2 separate regions of the Homo sapiens genome follow, and region 2 is linked to region 1. Evidence: promoter capture Hi-C in human tissues and cell types (Jung and others, 2019). All regions are on one chromosome and are shown on one strand. The core of a region is centred on a gene start or on the middle of the fragment in contact, and the rest is flanking DNA. Distances in the headings are between cores, read along the strand shown. Region 1 holds the start of TBATA (thymus, brain and testes associated). Region 2 has its middle 30 kb from the start of PRF1.

Region 1 (3,390 bases), core at 89-2,588:
GAGTGGTATGAATCCCCACCCCTTAGCTGGGAGGGGCAGAACTTTTGAAGGACTTGGGTTTGCCTCTAGCTACCCACCTTCCTTTTCTTGCTCCCCAGAGAAAAGACACAGAGTCTGGAAGCCCCAGGGCACCAGTATGAAGCCAGGGGTGCTGAGAGCAAAGGCCCTGGGAAAAGCCCACCTCATCATTCTGAGGGACAGCACCCGGCACTGTCTGCAAGCCTTCCCATAGTTTACAGAGCCTGTCTGCACCCCTCCCGGGATCTGATTGAGTTACAGCCCTGTCGGCTAAGAACTATCCTTACCCCCATTTGACAGGTGTCCAAGTTGAGCCTCAGAGAAATAGTGAACTACCTAAGATAGTTCTCAGACAAAGGACTCATCCTACTACCTCCATCAAGTTACCAATAATAATGATGATTATTATCCTTTTTGAGCATCTCTTGTGTGCCAGACATACAACTAAAGGCTTCACTTCCATTAGCTTGTCTTCAGAACAACCACAGAAGTAGGTGAGGATATCCCATTTTATAGACCCAGAGAAGGCAATAATAGTAAGAAATTATACTTGGGGGCAGATACTGTTTGAAACGCTTTAATATATATCAACTCACTTAATATTCTCAAACATCCTGTGAGAATAAGTGCAGTATCATCATCTCCATTTTAGAGATATGGGAACTAAGGCTCAGAGAAGGCAGGTGCATTGTCTGAGGCCACACAACTAGGAAGTAGCAGAATAGGGACTCGAAGCAAGGATTCTTCCCACTATTTTGCATCTGTGGCAGTCCCGGTGACTTACCCAAGGTAACGTGTCTATGGGATGTTGAAATCTGATTAAAACACCTGTCCAAATGCAAGCCCAGAATCTTCCCACCCAGCTGTCATGCAGAGAGAGGGGCTGGGGTCCCTCTGGGTAATGCGGGCTGCCATCTTCTCTCCTTCCAAGACCCACCTCCCTGAGAATGGGTCCCCAGAACCAAGATGCATGGAAGCCGACCCCTGTGTGGTGGGGTCAGGCCAGGTGGGGCTGACGAAGCTGGGACGCAGCCCACCAACGTCCTCTGCCAGCGTTCCGCCTCCATCCGCTTCTCTCTGGCTAAAACCAGCCCCAGACTCTCCTTCTCTCCCTTGGCCCCCATTGAAAGTGTTGGATGGGAGGCAGCAGGGAAGTCAGGAGGGACAGAAGGTCCTTAGCCCTTGTCTACCCTTCCAGGAGGGGGAGATAGGCAGGGGATGTGGTAGAGGGGTGCTGGGCAGAGGTTCTGGAGTTGTGGGAACAGGGTAACCTAGCAACCACTGGGCTCAGTGTCACAAAGCAGGCAGACTTGCCCACAGAACCCACAGCCTTCCCCTCGATTTGTCCTCTTGCTCCTTCCTGCTAGGACAGCAGGGCTTCTCGTACACATGCTGTAGCGGGCACTGCCTTGGTGAGTCCAGGGACCTCTCGGGAGAGGAGATGGACCCTGGACAGCCCAGAAGGGCAGAGGTAGAAAGGGAAGTTTTGTGGCTGGATTGATGGGAGCCCTCAGACCCCTCTGCCTGGCTGGCTGGGGCCCCAGGGACAGAGAGCAGGGGCAGGGCAGGGCAGACTACACTGGGGTCCCACCTGTCCCGCTCTGGACAAGGCAGGCTTGGCCTACTAGAGTCCCTGTCAGCCTCTCTACAGCCGCTGTGGGTTATGACCCCCTGGTGGCTTATTAGATCAATTTAAATGGATCATATCTAACATTTAAGAAATAAAAACCAAAAATAGGGTAAAAATATCAGTGTGCATCATATGTAGTACGGATAAATATTGCTTCAGGATATTATTGTTTTAGTTTCACACACACACACAAACCCATATGTGAATTGGATCATGACATAAAGAATTTCTTACCGTCATCACAGCCAAACACATTTGCAAGTCTCTGTTCTAAAGAGTACTTTTTCCCATAGGCAGGAGGATTTGGGGCTTCCACATATCCTGTTCTCAAGATTGTAGCATCTCAGTACTCTAGAGCCCAGTACCTGACATCAAGGATGTCTGGAGCTTCCTTTTAAGGAAAGAAAAGATCAGCAAACTGTGAGTCAGACTGCCCGGGCTCTGGTTCCTTCTGTGTGACCTCAGCAAATCTCCCCTGCTTCCCTGATCTCAGACAACTCCAACCCATCCCACTACCTGATGAAGGCTGGCATTGGGAGATCTCTGGGGTCCCTTGCAGATTCTGTGACTCTGAGGGTTAATTCTCAGAATGCACTGATGTCCTGTCCCAACCCCATCCCTAGCACTTTGGCTAGATATATATATTCAGGTCCATAGATTTAATCATAATTCTTGGTTTTGACACCTATCATCTTTCATCTATGCCATTTAATTAGTTTATTTAATAATATAATAAACACAAGCAAATACACCACCCAAACCAAGAACAAGAACATCATCACTAACACATCTCCTTATATGCGCTTCTCCTGCACACTTCCCCTCCCCGCCTTCCCTCGGAAATAGCCACTATGTGAATTTCGTGCTTAGCATTTCCTTGTTTGATGCTGTTGTTGCTGTTTTATCGCATGTTCATGATCATTTTGCTTGCTTTTAAACTTTTATTTTTAGAAAGGATCTCAGGCTATGTGGTCCTCTGGAACTTGTGGTCCTCTGGAACACACATAAACTAAACCATTTATGAAAGAAAAATAATATGTTTTTAAACAACATTTATACTGTTTAGTAGTTATTTTATATTATCCACACATTATATATAGTGGATGACAACAATTGTATTGTTTCAAATGCATATATCTTGTTCTACTGCAGCCTATTTAATAGTAATTAATAAAAAGTAAATTGAGTTAATAAGATTGCATAAATATAACATCGCAAAACCAAGAATTGTTAAGTTTTCTCATACTGATTATAAGATTCATCCATGTTGTTACATGTAGCTGTGGCTCATTTATTTTCATAGCAATAAAGTATCCCATTGTCTGAATGCACCACAGCTTATTTATCCATTCTTCTGCCATCAGACATTTGGGTTGCCACCAGGTTTTTGCTATTTTGAACAGTGTTTGTATGAATATTCTTATAAGTAGCCCCTGTTGTACATCTATAAGAATTTCTCTTATATCTGGGAAAGAAATTGCTGGGTGATACAGCATGCAAATGCTCAATTTTAAAAGATATTACCATTTCTCCCCCTAAAGTGCCTGTTCCCGTTTACACTTCCACCACCAGTTCGTGAGAGTTCCTGTTCTGCATCCTCAACACTAGTATTAAGTGAGAGTTCCTGTTCTGCATCCTCAACGCTAGTATTAAGTGCACTGGCCTTTAGTCTGTTAAAAAGCATACAATGGCTACAGATGTTCAATTGGCTGATTATCCACTGATGAGGTGAGGCTCCAAAT
Region 2 (3,363 bases), core at 222-2,721, 210 kb after region 1:
GGGTGAAGGATCGGGGTCTCAGCTAGTTTGAACTAGACAGGCGCTGGCCAAGTTCCTGAAAAACACTGAAGTGAATATTACCATGGTGACCTATGAATGTTATCTATAAAGTAGCCAGTGAAGGTTAAGTTCCAGTGTTCAGCGGTGAGGCCTTCAGCTACCACAGCCTTCAGCTTCATAGAAAAAGCTTGGGAGGGGGAGAATTAAAAAAGCAACCCAAAGCAAGCAGGGCAGGTAGACCTGATGGAATTAGCCCATTTTCAATGTTGTGTGTAAAGAACTTAGTGCAGGCCTCAGCACGCAGTCAGTGCGCAACAGACCCTGGCATCTGCCCTGCCCTCCTTTAGGCCAAGGTGGAGAGGGAGAAGTGCTTTTTCTCCTTTTCCCTCAGGCTACGTAGAGGCAAGAGGGGGAAGGATCAGTCTGCTATTGCCAAGGAAGGGACGCCACCCAGAGAAGGCAGTGACTGGCCAAGGTCCCCAGCAGGCTCTAGAATTAAAGTCACTCTGGAGCTTCCTGTCCCAAACCTGCTGTACTGGGCAATGCAAAGCAGGCAGGTTTTCTGGAAGCCAGGCTGTCTGCCCTAACCCAACCGAACACATTTATGGAAATTCCTGCTACACTCTCCCAGGGCCGATGTGCCAAGGGTTCTCCCGCTGTTGGCTTCCTCTGGGAAACCAAGTTAGTCCTTCCCAACGACTCTCCCTGGCCCACCAACCCCACCTCTGCTCTCATCTTTAGAGAATTCTGCATGGCTTCCCCCAAGAAATACTAAGAAATGCCTTCATGCCTCTTACTGGCTCCTCTAGTGCCAGAGGACACCCAAGCTGAGGTGCTGCATTCCGAGAGCCAGTGGTGCCCTCTGCCCCTGACCCCCTGCCATCACTCATGAGTAATGTCACTTCCATACCACTAACTCAGATACTCCTCAGATGGACTCTTCTGCTCCAGGGCTCCTAATAACATACTCTACAGAACAAGACAATTCTTGCAGTGAGTACCTGCTGTGTGTAAGGCCCAGCAATAGGAACTTCATGGCCATTAACTCTGATCCTTCCACTTACCCTACAAAATAAGCACTTTTTTCTTTTTCTTTTTTTTTTTTTTTTTTTTGAGATGGCATCTCACTCTGTCTCACAGGCTGGAGTGCAGTGGCGTGATCTCGGCTAGCTGCAACCTCCGCCTCCCAGGTTCAAGTGATTCTCCTGCCTCAATCTCCCGAGTAGCAAGGATTACAGGCACCCACCACCATGCCCAGTTAATTTTTGTAGTTTTAGTAGAGATGGGGTTTCACCATGTTATCCAGGCTGGTCTCGAACTCTTGACCTCAGGTGATTCACTCACCTCGGCCTCCCAAAGTGCTGGGATTACAGGCGTGAGCCACCACGTCCGGCCCAAAATAAGCATTTTAATCCCACTTACAATTGAGGACATTGTGTCTCAGAGAGGCAGTGTGATTTACCCAAGCTCTTTTGAACTGCTTCACTGTATGGATGGATGCTGAAACCACGCTTGCTGGCTGAGCAGAAAGGGGTGTGTGTAGCACACAGTACTAGGTGGCCAGAGAAGCAGGCGGGGATGTCACACAGCCAGGGACAGCACAGAGAGGAGAAAGGCCCAACCACCCACGGGGCTGCACGGGTCTCAGTGATACCTTTTAAAACCAGAGCCCAGGGAGTAGGAATGAGAACAGGGAGGGAGATAAAGATACTGGTTGAATTTTCACAACTAGTGGATGGTTACACTGTACTTGTGTGAATAAAAGACGAACAGCTTTTTGTAAGAGAAAACCAGTTACAATACATGCGTGCCAATTCTGCAGATACAATTTGAGGTTTCCGCACTGAACACCACAAGAAAGGACCAGGCAGGCGATGGCCGGTGGGCGGCTTCATTCTTTCTGTTCATCCAAAACCAGTTCTTGTGACAAGTAGAGAAACCAAAGGCCCTTTGTGGATGGGCCCTTCTCAGGGTCTGGCCAGATCTCAAGTCTGGCTAAAGGATGGGAGAGAGGGTGCAGAGATTAAGAAGAGCTCAGACCATCAGTGCTATATGGTTTCCGGGGTGCGGTGGTCCCACCCGACACCACAGGCCCCCTGGCTCCCCCTGGGTCCACAACATCACTGGTTCCTTGTTCTAGAAGCTCCAGAAGAGAGGCAAGTGGCGTCCTGGCTGGTTCTGGCCTATCACACCGCCACTGTTCTCCAAACCCTGCCCCACCCTAGCTCTCACGACACCTGGCGAAAATGATTTGTTCATTCTCTCTTGTCCTTGCAGTGCCACCAGCTCCTGGAAGGCAGGCTGTCCCCGTCCACAGCTCCCTGGTGCCTGGCATGGTGCCTGGTCTGTGTAGATGCCCAATTTTGCAGTGATCTGCTGCATCACTGCCCACAGCTGACATGCACAGACCTCCCCCTTGCACATGTCCCCTTATACACAGAACACTAAGGGCAGTCATCACGACACTAAGGGGTGCACGTCCCAGGTGGACCCAGCTAAGGCCCGCCTAGTCTGGGCAAACTGGTGTGACAGGACCCCCAGAAGATTGAGGGGCTTCCAGGAGAGAACATGTCTTAAGGGAGTGGGAGCCAGGCATATCAAGGCTGCTAGCCTGGGGTACCGGGTCTCCACCAGGGCAGCAGGGAAGACAGGGTGGAGGCTTAACCAGGGACCTGGCCAAATCCTTGGTTAAAAGTAGGCACAGACCCAAGGTCAAGTCCCGCCTGACACGGCACAGCCTGGGCACCTGAAATGGGGGTGGGGGTAGGGTCAGGGATGTCTGAAGTCCTGGAAGCAATGAGGATGCCACATGACAGTGACCACACATGTAGATCAATGGGGGACTCCTTCTGAGCACCCACAGGGCTTGGAGAGAGAGACTGGGCAAAGTCAGCTAAAACTGATTGTATACTCACAGGCACTGTCAGGCACTGTCCTAAAGGTTGCATGTATATTAACTCGTTTTTTAATATTATAATTCAGCAATATGTACTGGTATTTAAGAAAGAGACATAACAAAGAATGTATCAAAACATCACTAGTGGCCAGGCGCAGTGGCTGACACCTGTAATCCCAGCACTTTGGGAGGCCAAAGCAGGTGGATCACCTGAGGTCAGGAGTTTGAGACCAGTCTGGCCAACATGGCGAAACCTTGTCTCTATTAAAAATACAAAAATTAGCTGGGTGTGGTGATGCGTGCCTAAAATCCCAGCTGCTTGGGAGGCTGAGGCCGGAGAATCGCTTGAACCCAGGAGGTGGAGGTTGCAGCGAGCCAAGATCGCGCCACTGGACTCCAGCCTGGGCGACAGAAAAAGATTTCATCGAAAAAAAAAAAAAATCACTAGTTTAGATTAACACAGAGGA

Evidence for each region. The method cuts DNA at HindIII sites, captures the fragments that hold promoters and counts their contacts. A contact is called where the count stands out against the background at its distance.
Region 2: a contact is called between a fragment that was not itself captured here and the fragment with the promoter of TBATA in region 1, in 2 of the 25 tissues and cell types used here (IMR-90 fibroblasts and dorsolateral prefrontal cortex).

The regions. Positions count from the first base shown.
Region 1 is chr10:70,783,325-70,786,714 of GRCh38, reverse strand. TBATA (thymus, brain and testes associated) reads left to right here and starts at 1,338. Exons shown (of 11, transcript NM_001318241.2): 1 at 1,338-1,430; 2 at 1,942-2,068; 3 at 3,190-3,376. The coding sequence starts at 3,336. The HindIII fragment of the contact is 18,774 bases long and covers 1-3,390 here.
Region 2 is chr10:70,570,772-70,574,134 of GRCh38, reverse strand. No RefSeq gene overlaps it. Among named protein-coding and RNA genes, the nearest start is that of PRF1, 30 kb to the left of the region's middle. The HindIII fragment of the contact is 5,511 bases long and covers 1-3,363 here.